Regions from separate parts of the Homo sapiens genome. Here all the other regions are linked to region 4. The links are contacts of gene promoters, found by promoter capture Hi-C in blood cells and fetal thymus (Javierre and others, 2016). All regions are on one chromosome and are shown on one strand. Each heading gives the region's core, a stretch centred on a gene start or on the middle of the fragment in contact. The rest is flanking DNA. Distances are from core to core; before and after follow the strand shown. Region 1 overlaps TMEM138 (transmembrane protein 138). Region 2 has its middle 4.9 kb from the start of TMEM216. Region 3 overlaps LOC124902678 (a long non-coding RNA gene). Region 4 holds the start of PRPF19 (pre-mRNA processing factor 19).

Evidence for each region. The method cuts DNA at HindIII sites, captures the fragments that hold promoters and counts their contacts. A CHiCAGO score of 5 or more calls a contact.
Region 1: a fragment that was not itself captured here is called in contact with the fragment with the promoter of PRPF19 in region 4 in 1 of 17 cell types (naive CD4 T cells); the score reaches 6.4 in naive CD4 T cells.
Region 2: a contact is called between a fragment that was not itself captured here and the fragment with the promoter of PRPF19 in region 4, in 3 of 17 cell types (naive CD4 T cells, non-activated CD4 T cells and fetal thymus). The highest score is 8.3, in naive CD4 T cells.
Region 3: a fragment that was not itself captured here is called in contact with the fragment with the promoter of PRPF19 in region 4 in 1 of 17 cell types (non-activated CD4 T cells); the score reaches 5.2 in non-activated CD4 T cells.

What each region holds. Positions count from the first base shown.
Region 1 is chr11:61,365,064-61,367,563 of GRCh38, forward strand. TMEM138 (transmembrane protein 138) reads left to right here. Exons shown (of 5, transcript NM_016464.5): 3 at 982-1,153. Among named protein-coding and RNA genes, the nearest start is that of TMEM138, 3.9 kb to the left of the region's middle. The HindIII fragment of the contact is 5,415 bases long and covers 1-2,500 here.
Region 2 is chr11:61,385,309-61,390,139 of GRCh38, forward strand. No RefSeq gene overlaps it. Among named protein-coding and RNA genes, the nearest start is that of TMEM216, 4.9 kb to the right of the region's middle. RefSeq lists a silencer at 356-515. The HindIII fragment of the contact is 5,428 bases long and covers 456-4,831 here.
Region 3 is chr11:61,191,814-61,196,637 of GRCh38, forward strand. LOC124902678 (a long non-coding RNA gene) reads left to right here. Exons shown (of 4, transcript XR_007062691.1): 3 at 3,378-3,718. Among named protein-coding and RNA genes, the nearest start is that of PGA3, 9.3 kb to the right of the region's middle. RefSeq lists enhancers at 1,686-2,187, 2,188-2,687. The HindIII fragment of the contact is 5,628 bases long and covers 2-4,824 here.
Region 4 is chr11:60,903,881-60,908,173 of GRCh38, forward strand. PRPF19 (pre-mRNA processing factor 19) reads right to left here and starts at 2,705. Exons shown (of 16, transcript NM_014502.5): 1 at 2,484-2,705. The coding sequence starts at 2,502. It overlaps PRPF19-DT (PRPF19 divergent transcript), which reads left to right and starts at 2,899. Exons shown (of 2, transcript NR_186697.1): 1 at 2,899-2,963. RefSeq lists a silencer at 2,298-2,397 and enhancers at 2,337-2,924, 3,038-3,157. The HindIII fragment of the contact is 4,469 bases long and covers 1-4,062 here.

The sequences.
Region 1 (2,500 bases), core at 1-2,500, 460 kb after region 4:
TGTAATCCCAGCTTCTTGGGAGGCTGAGGCAGGAGAATCACTTGAACCTGGGAGGCAGAGGTTGCAGTGAGCCATGATCATGCCACTGCACTCCAGCCTGGGCGACAGAACAAGACTCCATCTCAAAAAAAAAAAAATGTTTAAGAGTGTCAGATAGCCTGGGCAACATAGTGAGACCTTGTTTCTATTAAAACATAATTTTATTTTTTTTTTTTTGAGATGGAGTCTAGCTGTGTCGCCAGGCTGGAGTACAGTGGCACAATCTCAGCTCACTGCAACCTCCGCCCCCTGGGTTCAAGCAATTCTCCTGCCTCAGCCTCCCTAGTAGCTGGGATTATAGGTGTGCGCTACCACACCCCACTATGTATTTACCACACCCAGCTACTTTTTGTATTTTTAGTAGAGACGGGGTTTTGCCATGTTGGCCAGGCTGGTCTCAAACTCTTGACCTCAAGTGATCTGCCCACCTCGGCCTCCCAAAGTGCTGGGATTACAGGCATGAGCTAATTTTTTTTTTAATTAGCTGAGTATAGTGGCACACACCTGTGGTCACAGCTACTCAGGAGGGTGAGGCGGGAGGATCACTTGAGCCCAGGAAGTTGCTGCAGTGAGCTGTGATCATACCACTGCACTCCAGTCTGGGCAACAGAATGAAACCCTGTCTCGAAAAATAAGGAGTATCAGAGAATCTTCTATAGGACTATGTATGGAAGAAATTTTAAAAATAAAAAAGAGTATTAGAGCAGGAAAGCCTTGACTATGGACTGCAAACCCAACTGATGGGGCCAGTGGGTAATTTTAGGTAATTTTAGCTTCATGTCATTCAGGTCCCAAAACCCATGTTATCTCTGTGAGGGTTTAAGATGTCAGATGCCTATCTCACAACAAAGGACAGGCCTCGTGGTGTCCCTCAGGACATAGTACCTGCTCTTGGGTCCTCACACAGGCCTTCATTGGTTGTACTTTTTTTTATGTCTACAGCATCCAGGATATTGCAGTCCTCTTCAACATCATCATCATTTTCCTCATGTTCTTCAACACCTTCGTCTTCCAGGCTGGCCTGGTCAACCTCCTATTCCATAAGTTCAAAGGGACCATCATCCTGACAGCTGTGTACTTTGCCCTCAGCATCTCCCTTCATGTCTGGGTCATGGTAAGAGTGGCAGTCTGAATTCTTTTTTTAATTTTTATTTTAAATAGAGGTGGGGTCTTACTTTGTTACCAAGGCTGGTCTCAAACTCCTGAGCTCAAGCAATTCTCCTGCTTCTGCCTCCCAAGCTCAAGCAATTCTCCTGCTTCTGCCTCCCAAAGTGCTGGAATTACAGGCATGAGTCACTGTGCCCGGCCTGAACTCTGAATTCCTGAATCGCTAAAGGGCTAGGAATAACTTTTCTTTTCTTTTCTTTTCTTTTTTTTTTTTTTTGAGACAGAGTCTCGCTCTGTCGCCTGGCTGGAGTGCAGTGGCGTGATCTCAGCTCACTGCAACCTCCGCTTCCTGGGTTCAAGCAATTCTCCTCCCTCAGTCTCCTGAGTACCTGGGATTACAGGCACGCACCACCACGCCCAGCTAATTTTTGTGTTTTTAGTAGAGACTGGGTTTCACCATGTTGGCCGGGATGGTCTCAATCTCTTGACCTCGTGATCCTCCTGCCTCGGCCTCTGAAGTGCTAGGATTACAGGCGTGAGCTACTGCGCCCGGCCACTGGGATATCTTTTCTCTGGGAACCCAGCTTCATTCTTTGACATCTCACACAATCCTTCGTAGAGAACAGGTGAAATGAAAGTGGTTTGGGTTGGAGCCCTGGGCATGTGAGAGTTTCATAAGGTACTCTTGACCAACCTTATGTGTTGAAAAACAGCCTTGTCCAAGAGTCAGGGGACTCTTCCAGAACATTCAATTCACCTTTGCCCCAAACAGGCCTACCAGGGCTAAAACAGGTAGTTGAATGTGTCTCATCATTAGCTATTTGGGCAGGTGGATGTTGATACAGGTTATTCTTAGGCATCAGTGCCCCATGGCTAATGCTGTAGGCAGTGGATGTTTTTGGAAGTAGCCAAGCAGGATTGCTGCTTGCCCTTGAGTGCTCCATGCCGTCTGCCAAGCTCCCATCACTTTAACTAGGAGAACCGGCCTCCAGGATCCCTCCCTTTGGTTCTAACATAGGCCTCAGATCAGATCCAGTGTCTGTGGTTTCAGATTTCTTCTGCTTCACAAATTCTTCCAGCTCTTTGAGTATCTTGTATATTTCTCATGTACTCAATTCAATTGAACTCTAAAACCTCAGGGTTCTCTAGTTGTCACTTCATTATTAAAGCCACTTTCACACCTGAACCCCCTGTTAGGTTGTGCTTGTGATTCCACAGAAAGAAGTAGAGGTCCCAGGAAAGAAGCAAAGCAACACCAGAGTCTCCGGGTGCTTCCTGAAGAGGATTCTGTGCCCTGGTTCCTGGAGCCAAAATAGGTCCTGGCTTTGTACTATAAAAGCCGTTAATCTCATTA
Region 2 (4,831 bases), core at 1,920-4,419, 480 kb after region 4:
CTAACAAGATATCTCCTCTCTAAAAGTGAAGTTCTCAGCCTTCCCCCAAATGATAAGACACACAGTCCAAACAGTCACTGTATCCATAGCTGGCTAGATTACTCCACAGATTTGTCGTGATCCCTATTACCTAAAAACTATTACCTAAAAACTATTACCTGTGTCTATTACCTAAAAACTAGATTGTAAAGTTGACCTCCAACAATTTGCACATAAAATAACAAAGGGAGGCAAAAGACATGGTCAGTACATACAAATAAACACATGCATGTAAGAAGCAAAGAAGAATATGCATCGCTGCTACAGTCCTCGTTTTTGTAACTGATCATTTTTGTAACTAATCACGGTCATAGTTGACATCCATGGTTTCCTTAGAAAAATCCGAAGGCTGCACACTGGAACCCGGGAGAGCCTCTTTGTTTCTGCAATAGCCCTCTAGTGCCCTCTGCTGACAAAGCTTAACACTGTACTCACTGTACGGGATAAATGCTTAGCGTCGATCCGGTTATCATGGAACAGAACAGGTACTGAGAGTGAATCTGGAGCTGAGGCAGTGTTGATAACTGCCATACTAGGAAACCACTAAATATTCAGAAATTAAATAAGGCTGGGCACGGTGGTTCACGCCTATACCATGTCACTCGAGCTCAGGAATTCCAGACCAGCTTGGGCAACATGGCAAAACCCCACCTCTACTAAAAATACAAAAATTAGCCAGGCGTGGTGGCACGCACCTGTAGCCCCAGTTACTCGGGAGGCTGATGCATGAGAATAGCTTGAGCCTGCAAGGCACAGGTGGCAGTGAGCTGAGATCGCACCATTGCACCGCAGCGTGGGCAACAGAGAGTCTGTCTTAAAATAAATAAAATAAAATAAAATAAAATAAAATAAAATAAAATAAAATAAAATAAAATAATAAATAAAATAAAATACACTTATAAATAGCCCATGGGTCAAAGAAGAAATCATAAGGGAAATTAGAAAACACTTTGAACCCAGCTGGGCGCAGTGGCTCATGCCTGTAGTCCCAGCACTTTGGGAGGCTGAGGCGGGTAGATCACTTGAGGTTAGGAGTTCAAGATCAGCCTGGGGGCAACATGGTGAAACCTCATCTCCACTAAAAATACAAAAATTATCTGGGTGTGGTGGCACACACCTGCAATCTCAGCTACTTGGGAGGCTAAGACAGGAGAATTCCTTTGAACCCAGGAGGTGGAGGCTGCAGTGAGCTGAGATCGCACCACTGCACTCCAGCCTGGGCAACAGAGTCAGACTCTGTCTCAAAAAACAAAAACAAAAACAAAACAAAACAAAACAAAAAACCTAAAGAAAGTAAGAAGAAGGAAATTATAAAGAGCAGAAATTTGTAAAATAGAAAACAAATTTTATACGATGAAGAAAAAGAAAGTCGAAAGCTGTTTTTAAAAAAATTAATAAGGCTGGGCACGGTGGCTCACACCTGCAATCCTAGCACTTTGGGAGGCCGAGGCGAGTGGATCATGAGGTCAGGAGTTCGAGACCAGCCTGGCCAACATGGTGAAACCCCATCTCTACTAAAAATACAAAAATTAGCCGGGCGCAGTGGTGGGCGCCTGTAATCCTAGCTACTCGGGAGGCTGAAGCAGGAGAACTGCTTGAACCCAGGAGGCGGAGGCTGCAGTGAGCCGAGATCACACCACTGCACTCTAGCCTGGGTGACAGAGCAAGACTCTGTCTCAAAAAAATAAAATAATAATAATAATAATAATAAGAAACCAGGCATGGTGGCTGATGCTTGTAATCCTAGCACTTTGGGAGGTCGAGGCAGGTGGACTGCCTGAGCTCACCAGTTCGAGACCAGCCTGGGCAACATGACAAAACCCTGTCTCTACTAAAAATACAAAAAAAAAAAGCCGGGAGCAGTGGCTCACACCTGTAATCCCAGCACTTTGGGAGGCTGAGGCGGGCAGATCATGAGGTCAGGAGATCGAGACCATCCTGGCTAACACGGTGAAACCCCGTCTCTACTAAAAATGCAAAAAAAATTAGCTGGGCATGGTGGCGGGTGCCTGTAGTCGGCTACTCGGGAGGCTGAGGCAGGAGAAGGGCGTGAACCTGGGAGGCGGAGCTTGCAGCCAGCCGAGATCGCACCACTTCACTCCAGCCTGGGCGACAGAGCAAGACTCCGTCTCAAAAAAAAAAAAAAAAAAATTAGCCAGGTGTGGTGGTGCATGCCTGTAGTCCCAGCTACTTAGGAGGCTGAGGCACGAGAATTGCTTGAGCCTGGGAGGCAGAGGTTGCAGTGAGCCAAGATCGTGCCACTGCACTGCAGCCTGGGCGATAGAGTGAGACCCTGTCTCATAAAAAAAAATAAAAAACAAAAATAAAACGTTAATAAAATTGATAAACACCTATCAAAACTATTGAAGAAAAAAATATGAAAGAAAAGGGACATCACTGCAGTTCTTACATCCATTAAGTAATATTTAAGGATTGCCTGGTGACTTTTTTAATTTTTAAAAATTAATTAGTTATTATTATTCTTTAGACAGAGTCTCGCTCTGTTGCCAGGCTGGAGTGCAGTGGCATGATCTTGGCTCACTGCAACCTCCACCTCCTGGGTTCTAGCGATTCTCCTGCCTCAGCCTCCCAAATAGCTGGGACTACAGGCATGCACCACCACACCTGGCTAATTTTTTTGTATTTTTAGCACAAATGGGGTTTCACCATGTTGGCCAAGCTGTCTTGAACTCCTGACCTCAAGTGATCCGCCTGCCTTGGCCTCCCAAAGTGCTGGGATTACAGGTATGAGCCACTGCGCCCAGCCTGACTACTGACTTATAATACAGAAAAAAAAAGAATTGAGGAATGTTATGAAAACCTTCACACCAATACATCTGGAAATGTATACAAAATGATTTACCCAAACCTTATTCAAGGTTTATGCAAACACAAATTCACCCAAACCTTACTCGAGAAGTAGAATATCTGAATGTTCTTATATATAGTACAGGGATTTCATTATTTTAAACTCCCCCCCACCAAAAAAAAAATTTAGGTTTAGATGGCTTCATCAGTGTATTCTTTCAAATACTTGAAGAAGAAATATTACCTAGCTTACACTATCTCTTCCGGAGAATAGAAAAAGAAGAAATACCTTTCGCTTTATTGGATGAAGCCACCTTAACCTTAATACCCACCCTTGACAAGGTCCTTGACAAAGTTAAATTACAGACCAATCTCTCTCATGATACATATGTAAAACCTGAACAAAATTAGCAAATGAAATCCAGTGACATATAAAAAGGATAACATATCTGTGTCAGGGGTCTCCAAGATCACACCCAGTTTGGATGATTTGCTATAAGGACTTATGGGACCCAGCATACAGGTGTATTCATGCCTCTGATCTATTACAGTGAAATACAAAGCAAGGTCAACAAAGGGAAAAGATACATGAGGCACAGTCAAGGAGAAACTAGCAGCATGCTTCCAAGAGGTCTATCTCAGGGGGAATCACACAAGACGTTCATCATTCCTCCAGCAACAAATTCTGATAACATATGTGCAATGTTGTCTACTAGGAAAGCTCACTTGAGACTCAGGGTCCAAGTTTTATTTTTTTTATTTTTATTTTTTTAAACAGTTATGGTTCACTGCAGCCTCTTCCCTCTACCTCTTGGGCTCAAGCAATCTTCCTGCCTCAGCCTCCGAAGTAACTGGGACTACAGGTGTGCACCACCATGCCTGGCTAAATTTTTTTGTTTGGGTAGAGACAGGGTCTCACTGTGTTGTCCAGGCTGGTCTTGAACTCCTGAGCTCTATTGATCCTCCTGCCTCAGCTTCCCAAAGTGCTGGGATTACAGGCATGAGCCACTGGACCCAGCCCCCAAGGTTTTTACTGGGAGCTGATCATGAAGGCACCCTCTGCCTAACATGTTTCAAAACTCCAGACTCTGAGAAGGAGAACAGGTATTTAGCATAAGCCACATTGTTTGTACAGTTTAGGCACTGTGAGCCACTTTAAACTGGTGGGAACACTACCAAAAGCCAAGTTCCCTTACGCCAGGCAAGGGTCAACCTTGCAGTTGGGCCTCTCCAAAGACAGCAGCCTCAGGTCTGCTATGTTAAGTTTTTTCTGTACAGTCTCATAAGCAAATGGGTTTTTTATTTTTTCCAGGAAGACATGGTTGGTCATACCTCTGAAAATCAATGTAATTCATATTAGCAGAATAAAGGAGAAAAATCATATAGTCCTCTCAACGGATTAAGAGAACACACTTAATAAAATATATCATAAGCCTTTTAGCAAACTAGGATAATAAGGGACTTTCTTAATCTGATAAAGAGTATCTACAAAAAAAATCTATAGCCACCATATTAATGGTGAGATATTGAACGCTTCCCCTGAGGTTAGGAACAAGACAAGACTATCCATCATCACCACTTATAGTCAACATTACACTGCCAGTCCTGGCCAGTGCAATAAGGCAAGAAAAAGAAATTGAAGGTATAGAGATTGAGAAGGAAGTAAAAATGTCTTTATTTACTGATGATGTGATCATGTACATAACAAGCCTCCTAGAAATAATCAATTTAGCAAGGGCACTGGCTGTTGGGACAGTCTTGCATGGGTCCTAAGCATCCCTGCATGTTCTTACTATGTCAAACCAGAAAGTCTGTCTCCTGATACTGAGCACAGAAGCAATTAAGTAGACCAAAGTGACTATAGTGTGATGATAGTATAATTTCTCCCTCCCCAGTGGAAAGGGCCTGGCTTTATTTGCTGCTTGCTAAAAAGGGTACTGAGCCTTTGGCTCTGGGCTCCACCAAGCTGTGGCATAACTCCTTG
Region 3 (4,824 bases), core at 1,566-4,065, 290 kb after region 4:
AAGCTTTTCCTTACCAAAGAATGCCAATTAAAAATGTAAAATGTAAAAGAAATGATAGAATTAGAAAGTCACCCCTAGGCCGGGTGCGGTGGCTCATGCCCATAATCCCAACACTTTGGGAGGCTGAGGTGGGCAGATCACTTGAGGTCAGGAGTTTGAGACCAGCCTGACCAACATGGAGAAACTCTGGCTCTGCTAAAAATACAAAAATTAGGCTGGGTGCGGTGGCTCACACCTATAATCCTAGCACTTTGGGAGGCCGAGGCGGGCAGATCACCTGAGGTCAGGAGTGGCAGACCAGCCTGGACAATATGGTGAAACCCCGTCTCTACTAAAAATACAAAAATTAGCTGCTTGAACCTGGGAGGTGGAGGTTGCAGTGAGCCGAGATCACTCCATTGCACTCCAGCCTGGGCGACAATAGTGAAACTCCATCTCTATAAATGAATAAATAAATAAATAAATAAAAATTAAAAAATTAGCCGGGCGTGGTGGTGTGCACCTGTAATCCTAGCGACTGGGGTCGCTGAGGCATGAGAATTGCTTGAACTGGGGAGGCAGAGGTTGCAGTGAGCCAAGATTGCGCCATTACACTCCAGCCTGGGCAACAGAGCAAGACTCAGTCTCAAAAAATAATAATAATAAAGAAAGAATACATCAAACAAACCCTAGTTGAGGGACATTCTGCAAAACAACTGGCCTATACTCTTCAAAAGTGTCAACGTGATGAATGAAAAAGGCAGAGGGAGGGACTGTTCAAGATCAAAGGACACCTGGGAGACCTGGAACCCAAAAGAATGTGCGATCCTGGATTGAGTTGTGGAACAGAAAATTAAAAATCACAAAAAAGGACAATTTTAGGACAACTGGTGAAATCTGAATATGTGCTGTGTATTAGATAATAGTATCGTATCAATGTAAGACTTACTGCCTGTGGTCATTTTGACATCATCCACGTAAGCAAATGTCCTTAGAAACACACACTAAAGATTTAGGAGCAAAGGATCATGATGTCTGCAATTGACTCAAATCATTCAGCCAAAATAATAATAATATGCATGTATGCATGTGTATGGAGAGAGAGACAAAGAGAATAAATTCAGTAAAATGTCAATACGTGAATCTAAAAGCAATTATAATAATAATAATGAATCTGAGTGAAATATATATGGGAATTTGTGGGAGGTGTTTGTTTGTTTGTTTGTTTGTTTGTTTGTTTTGGAGAGGGAGTTTCGCTCAGTCACCCAGGCTGGAGTGCAGTGGTGCCATCTTGGCTCACTGCCACGTCCACCTCCCAGGTTCAAGCCATTCTCCCACCTCAGCCTCCCTAGTAGCTGGGATCACAAGCATGCACCACCACGCCCGGCTAATTTTTTTGTATTTTTAGTAGAGATGGGGTTTTGCCATGTTGGCCAGGCTGGTCTCTAACTCCTGACCTCAGGTGATCTGCCCTCCTCAGCCTCCCAAATATATGGGAATTTGTTGCACTATTCTGGCACTTTTTCTGTAGATTTAAAATATTTTCTTTTGTTGTTGTTGAAACAGGGTTTCACTCGGGTCGCCCAGGCTGGAGTGCAGTGACACAGTTATGGCTCACTGCAGTCTCAACCTTCTGGGCTCAGGTGATTCTCCACCTCAGCCTTCTGAGTAGCTGGGACTACAGGCGTGTGCCACCATGCCTGGCTAATTTTTTCTATTTTTAGTAGAAACAGAGTTTCACCATGTTGGCCAGGCTGGTCTCGAACTCCTGGACTGAAGCAATCCACCCACCTTGGCCTCCCAAAGTGCTGGGATTACAGGATGAGCCTCCGTGCCCGGCTCTCCTTGCCATTTTTACATACTGATATCTCTGGGCTCTGTGCCAGACTGGGGTGGGTGCCAGAGGAAAAGGATAAGACCCCGCCCCTCCCCTTGAGCACAGGGTCGACTGCAGGTGGTCACGCACCATCTGCTGGGTGCTGGGGGGCAAGGCGGCAGCAGGACATGGGAGGAAGGTACGGGGGAGCAGGGTCTGAAGGAGAGCATTAGCAAGGGCCCTCCCCCTCCTCCTCTCTCCTGCCTTCCACCGGGATCTGCCTTGCTCCGAGGCGGAGAGACTGACCCCCAGGCTCCAGTACCCTCCACCTTCAGCCCCAGCTCGAGCTGGGTCCTGGCAGTGCTAGTCCCTCCCTGCGCTCCTTTTGATTTTCCACTGCTGCTGGCTCCCGGTGCCTCCTCATCGCTTTTGGGGTCCTTTACCCTTGCCCACCCCCTCACTAAATCTCTTCAAACCTCTAGGTGGGCCACCTGTTTCCACAAGGATTCTGACACTCTAGGTAATGACAGAGAAACGCTTTCAAAGGGAACAGCTTGTGCCAAGGCTCAGAGGCAGGGGAGGATGTAGCCCAGTGGGAGAATTCAGACCGCCCAGGGCAGGAGGGCAGGAAGGCAAGCTGTTCCAGCCCAGGTCACAGCTCTCAGCATTGAAACTGGGAACTGTGACACCTCCCACCTGAGCCCCACATCCCCCACCCCCGGAGGACGCATTGGCCGGGGCCTGCCTACAGCTTTACCTGAGCCCATCCCGGAGCGTGGACTGGGACACAGGAGCAGGCTCCAGGCTCCACCGTGGATTACACAGGCACACCCCTTGCTGAGGTCGAAAACAGGAGGCTTGTGTTCCTCCTCCACAGTGGCGTGGTTTTGGAGCCTCCAGCCAGGCCCAGAAGCCTCCTCTACCTTTCCTTTTTTTTTTTTTTTTCTTTCTTTCTTTTTTTTTTTTTTTTTAGATAAAGTCTCGCTCTGTTGCCCAGGCTGGAGTGCAATGCTGCAATCTCAGCTCACTGCAACCTCTGCCTTCCGAGTTCAAGCGATTCTCCTGCCTCAGCCCTCTGAGTAGCTGGGATTACAGGCACGCGCCACCATGCCTGGATAATTTTTGTATTTTTAGTAGAGACGGGGTTTTACCATGTTGGTCAGGCTGGTCTTGAACTCCTGACCTCATGATCCGCCCGCCTCGGCCTCCCAAAGTGCTGGGATCACACGCATGAGCCACCATGCCCAGCCCTCCTCTCTACCTTTTCTAGCAATGAAAACTTCATACCTGACAGTCAGCCTGGATGCTTAATGCTCAACCATTCACTCAACATCTACACTGCCCCAGGTCCAGATCTTTGTAAAAATGAGATGCTCCCCTAGGAAGGAGGAACACACTCCTGGACTGATTTCAGCCTCCAGATACTAAGACAGTTTAAATGCCTCCTCCTCCACGATGGCCTCCCATATGTCCCTTGGAAGTAAGCTCCTTTTCTTGAATGACTAGCACTCTGTCCCTTTTATACCCTTCTTAGTGTCTGCCCTAGTTAATAATTTCTACTGTTTTCTGCTTTTTATTACAGTGACTGAGGTATGGGTCTTACTTCTCTCACTCAGATGTAAACCCACTGAGGACAAAACTCATGGCTGATTCATCTCTATCAAGCCTACTGCCTGGCATGTGGAATGTATGAATGAGTGAATGAACGAGAAGATGAACAAGGCAAAGCGCTCATAAGCATGGCCAGTTTGGCCAGGGAGTAGGCTGTAAGAAGACGTCAGAGCCTTCTGCTTGAATCTGCTGCCTTGCCGCCCACCCCAGGCTAAGGCACGAAGACCCTCAAAGCTGCTGCTGCAGGTCCTTTGGAGGAGCAGGCAGCTGGGCTCCCTGGCTCTCCCATCTGGAGCAGGAGGCCCAGGACAGGTGCTTTAAATACCCTCTGGCCACACCCCCAGCCTACTGCCCCTGGCACCAATGGTGGCAGAGTCACAGGTCAGAAACCAGGATTCAGGTCACCCCTTAGAAGGAACAGGGCGTAGATGGGGACAGATTGGATCAGAAAAGGCTGAGGAGGCCAGGTCCAGAGCTGTGCACACCTGGGAGTAACGTGGTATTTGAGATACCGAGGACAAAAGAGCTGCGGCTGTCGGGGGCAGGACGCACTATCAGGGGACCTTAACCTCTGTCCCCAAGAGGGGTTCACACCCCAGGCCACCAGTTTCAGTGGGTTTACACTGGGGCTCTGGGCAGGCGCAGCTCAAGGCAGGTGCTCTGAGGGAGAGCAGGGCTGTGAGGGGCTGGGGAGGCTGGCCCAGAATCTCCCCATGCCCGCCTGGAGACTGCAGGCCAACTTCCTGGTCATGCCCCAGTTCCCAGGAATTTTCCAGCTCCTGCTTAATAGCTCCATCCTCCCTCCATCTGCCCCCAGCCCACTCCCAGTTTCCAAACATTTTCTTTTTTGCTTCCAGTTAACCCTTGCTCTGCCCAGTACCGAATTTCTGTCACTGCCTCCTCCAAGACCTTCTCTTGTATTTTGCCCAAAGCAGGTGTCAGAACCCTTTCTGGGGGCCGAGCAGCTTGGTGTTGGGAGGCTGTGGTTGAGATTCCCGGCTCTCTTACTCCCTTCCCAGGGCTTGGGCAAATTCTTGCCCCCAGTGCCTCCTCTCTGCTTCCTGACTCTCCCTTGAGAGCTTGGACCATAGACCCCAGCACCCTTCCTGCTCAAGGACACACTCCACTCTGAGTATACACCCAACAGAAACACATACATATGTTCTCTAAAAGATGTGTATTAGAAGCCGGGCACAGTGGCTCACGCCTGTAATCCCAGGACCTTGGGAGGCCAAGGCAGGTGGATCACTTGAGCCCAGGAGTTTGAGACCAGCCTGGGCAACACAGGGAGACCCCGTCTACACAAAAATAAAAAAAATTAGCCAGGCATGGTGGCACACACCTGTGGTACCAGCTACTTGAGAGGCTGAGGTGGGAGGATTGCTTGAGTCTGGGAGGTCAAGGCTGTGGTGAGCCAT
Region 4 (4,293 bases), core at 1,455-3,954:
AGTGAGCTTGGAGTGAAGGCAATCTTGGGCCTAGAGGATTCCTCATCTGCTATTAGCCCCAACAAGACTAGGCATCCTCACACTCAACTAGCAGAAAGCAAGACATTTGACCCTAAGCCAGTTCTGTACTGGCCCCAGAATGCTTTCCAGCTATGGAACTACCTTTTCCTTTAGTCTCCTGACTGAGGAGATAGTCTCCTGACTATCTGACAATCATATAGTCAACAAATAATTATTAACAACTACTATGTGCCAAGCACCTAGAGAATAGCAGTCCATTATCACCACCTCATATCTGAACAATGATTGTGTACTCTATGAATACAGTTTACTCCATGACATGGAGATACACATGAAGCCATTCAAATCCCTGCCATCCATCTTAGTCTATAGCTCCAGACAGATTATCAAAGAAATTATAAAGTCTGAGAATACAGGAATAACAAACTCAGTTTCTCCTATTCTCTGACAAAACAAAATACTTCTGTGACCTCAGATGTGACCATCTGGGTGTCCTCCAATTCAATTCTGACACCAGGTACCTGGAGATAGTGTCAGATCATACAGGTTGAGGTCTCAGTCCCACCAGACTCCCCGCCCCTTCAGATGCCAATCGCAAGCCCCAGGTTGTTTGACCTGTTCTTCTGATCTACCAGCTGTAAATCAGGGTTCCCATGACCTCCTTTTTGGGTTCAATTAATTTGCAACAGTGACTCAAACAATTGTGGGAAACACTTATGTTTACCAGTTTATTGTAAAGGATATTACAAAGGATACAGATGAAGAGGAGCATAGGATGAGGTATGGGAGAAGTACAGAGCTTCCCATGCCTTCCCTGGGCACCCCACCCTCCAGGAACCCCCACATGTTCTGCTATACAGAAGCTCTTTGAATCCTGTCCTTTTGTATTTTTATGAAAACTTCATTACAAAGGCATGATTCAATAAATCACTGGTCACTAGTGACGACTTCAGTTCCTCTCATTTCCCCAGGTAAATGGGGGGTAGGACTGAAAATCCCAACCTTCTAATACCCTTTAGTCTTCCTAGGTGACCAGTCCCCATCCTGAAGCTATTGAGTCTACCAGCTACCAGTCAACTGATTAGCGTACAGACACTTATCACCTGGAAGATTCCAAGGAGCAAAGTGGCAATCGCTACAATAAAAATATTTAAAAATATTTACATGGCACATTTGCATGGCACATTTCTATGTGCCAAGCACAATTCTAGGCATACAGTACAGTAATTCATCTTCACAACAACCCGCAATAGAGGTATCATTTACACTCTTGCCTGCGTAGACTGTGCACCCCTTGAGGATAAGGATTACAGCTGGTCTCTCACTTCCAGTACAATGCAGATGCCCCCAGGGCACTCGGTAAACATCTAACAAATGAGTGAACCATGCCAGGAAGGATGGTGCTGGGGAACGTAAAAGAGAGCTTCCCGAAGATTGGAAGGAAACAATAAATGTGAAGGTACTTTGCGAGCTGTAATTTCTTCAAAGTGAGGGATTCCTTTTCCATCATTTCCCTTCCTTCTTCCCCCTCTTTGGATCAATGTACAGGTTCTGAGAAGAGAAGGAAGTGAATAGCAAAAGGGAGGGGAAACGAGTAATCTGATGAAACAACGAAAAGGGAAAGGAAAATGTCTGTACGTCATGATAAAATATCAAAGGGAAAGATAGTGGAAGGTATGAAAAAAGCATGGATTCAGGGTCCAAGATCCGTGTCACCTAACTACGTCACCCAGCTCTGCCACTGACTAGCTACGCATCCTTAGATAAGCCCCGCTCTTCCTGCGCCTTGCATCCTCATCTGCAAAACCAGGATCTTTATTTCTCCTTTAGGGAATTCTTGTGAGGATAAAATGAGATCATAGACTTGGAAGCGCGTTGTAAACCAATAAGGGCTTATAAATGTGCGCTGTTTTTATTAGTCATACAGTGTAAGGCTGGGAGCCAGATACCTGGCTGCCAGCCTTGCCTCTACCTCTAACTCATCATGTGACCTTTGCAAATTGCAAAAGCTCCGACTATCCGAGCGAGGCCTCGCAAAACATCCACTGCAATGCTCTCGATTTTGCAGATGGGGAAACCGAGGCCCAGAGCCTTGAGCCAATTCATAAAGCCAATGGGAGGCGGACCCTGGACAAGACCTCGAGTTTTCTGACTCCTACATTAAGGCTGCTTCCCTTGCACCAGCTCTCTCTGTCCAGACCTGTTTCCACTCTGTAGAATGAGGCGACCGGCCTCAGTAATGTCTGCGACAATAAACCTCAGGCACTATGTAAACTGCGGGGCACTGCGCAAATGCACCCCGCTCCGACGGGGGGGGCTCCGGTGCTGACAGGCCGCCGCTCGGCCTCCGGAGCGCCCCATTCCCGCCTCCACCCCGGCCCGGGCGCCGCAGCGGACCGCACACGCTCCCGCGCCGCTCTCTGGCCTCCTGAGACCCGCGCTTGGCCGCAGCCAACACTCACTGGAGCAGATTAGGGACATGGCGCCGTCACCGTGCTCCGAGGCGCCACACGCCGGGCTCCGGGACTAGCTTCTGAGCCTCCGCGAGCCACTTCCGGTCCCCCGCTGCTGCCGGGACTGCTCCGCGGCGAGCTGGGAGCCGCCAGCCGAGCGATGCTAGCGTAGCGCTTCACGTGGGAATGGGGACAGCCGCGCGCCACAGCCTTCAGCACCTAACGGAAATTGCCCTTTCCCAGAATGCAGCCGGGCAGGAAAGGGCCCGCCACGAACACTCGGTTATTTCCGGATTGACTCGGCTCGTTCCGTAAAGCGCCGGAGGATTGGCTGGGGCGTCGGGAGAGAGGAGGCTCGAAACTACATTTCCCATGACGCAGTGAGAATTTAAAACCAAAACAATTGGACAGCACTTGTTTTGACAACTGTGCGGCACTGTGCCACGGGACCCTGGTCTTTGAAACCTTGGCGTGCGCGAGAATTTCCCAGTGAGTTTGTTAAAATGCAGATTCCTCGGGTCTGCGTAGACAGACTGTGCCCCACGCTTTTCTAAGTCAGTTGTTTCTCGGGCTACCCTTTAAGAGACACTGCTGGATGGCCTGGTGAAGAAAATACAGAAACAGATGGGTACAAGAACTAAGAAAACGGCTAAGAAAGTGTTTTGGTCCTGACTACTACCATTTCGCTCTGTGATTTGGGGCAATTCACATTGCCCTTTCTTCTTTGTCAAAAGACAAAATCACAACAAACTTAGTTCAAAGATTTTTTTTTTCTTAAGAGACGGACTCTGGCAATGTTGCCCAGGCTGGAAGGCAGTGGCTATTCACAGGTGCGGTCATAGCAATCATGGCTATCACAGGTGCATCCTGGAACTCCTGGCCTCAAGTGATCCTTCTGCCTCAGCCTCCGGAGTAGCTGGGACTTAAGGTGCGATTCTATAGAATTGGGCAGTGCCTCATACTATAAAATATAATGGTTGTTCCAATGAGCTGAACAGGAGAACTTGGTTTTATAGACAGAAAAGGACTGAGGAAAACAGGAACAGAGAACAAAAAGCGGATTGGTCATTTGGTAATTTCAAAATTACTTTTCTTGTAAAGGTTAAAGTGGAGGGGACTTATCATGCCACCTAAAACTTGCCTGTTTGGGAATTTAGCTCCCCCCTACACACACACACACACACACACACACACACACACACATACACACTCAGAAGGTCGTAAAGATCTTCGTTTCAGCTTATTGGCGTGGAGCTTCAGCAGGACTAACTCTTTTTAGCTTGGTCTGTTAGGCCTAGCAGAAGAGCTCAGTCCAAACCAATGGCCTCCTATAAATTTCTTTATTTTGTATTTTGGATTTTGTATTTTCTATTTCTCTTCCAGCTCAGATAGTGTATGATTCTTTGTGGATATCTGTAAGATAAGATACTCTCAGGAATCATGCAAAAGACGTGGTGTGGACTGTAAGGTATCAAGACAAAAGGGCAGGATGAACAGGATGTGAGTGAGAGGGACTTTGACAGGTGGGCAGTATTCAGAGGAGAAGGAGAACGAAAGGCATTCCGGAAGAAGAAACAACGTAAGCAAAAGCTTGGAGAGAAAAATAAAAGTTACAGGTACAAAAGGCAATATGGCATAGTGGCCAAGAGCATGGACTCTGAAGTCAGACTGTGTGCTCAAATCCTAGCACCACTCAGGTGATTGGCAGTATGAACTTCTCTATGCCTTAGTTTCCTCATCTGTAAAACAGAGGGAGTGATGACAAGGGTAGAACTAACTCACTGAACTCTTATGAAGAGTTAATATGCAAAAGGGCATC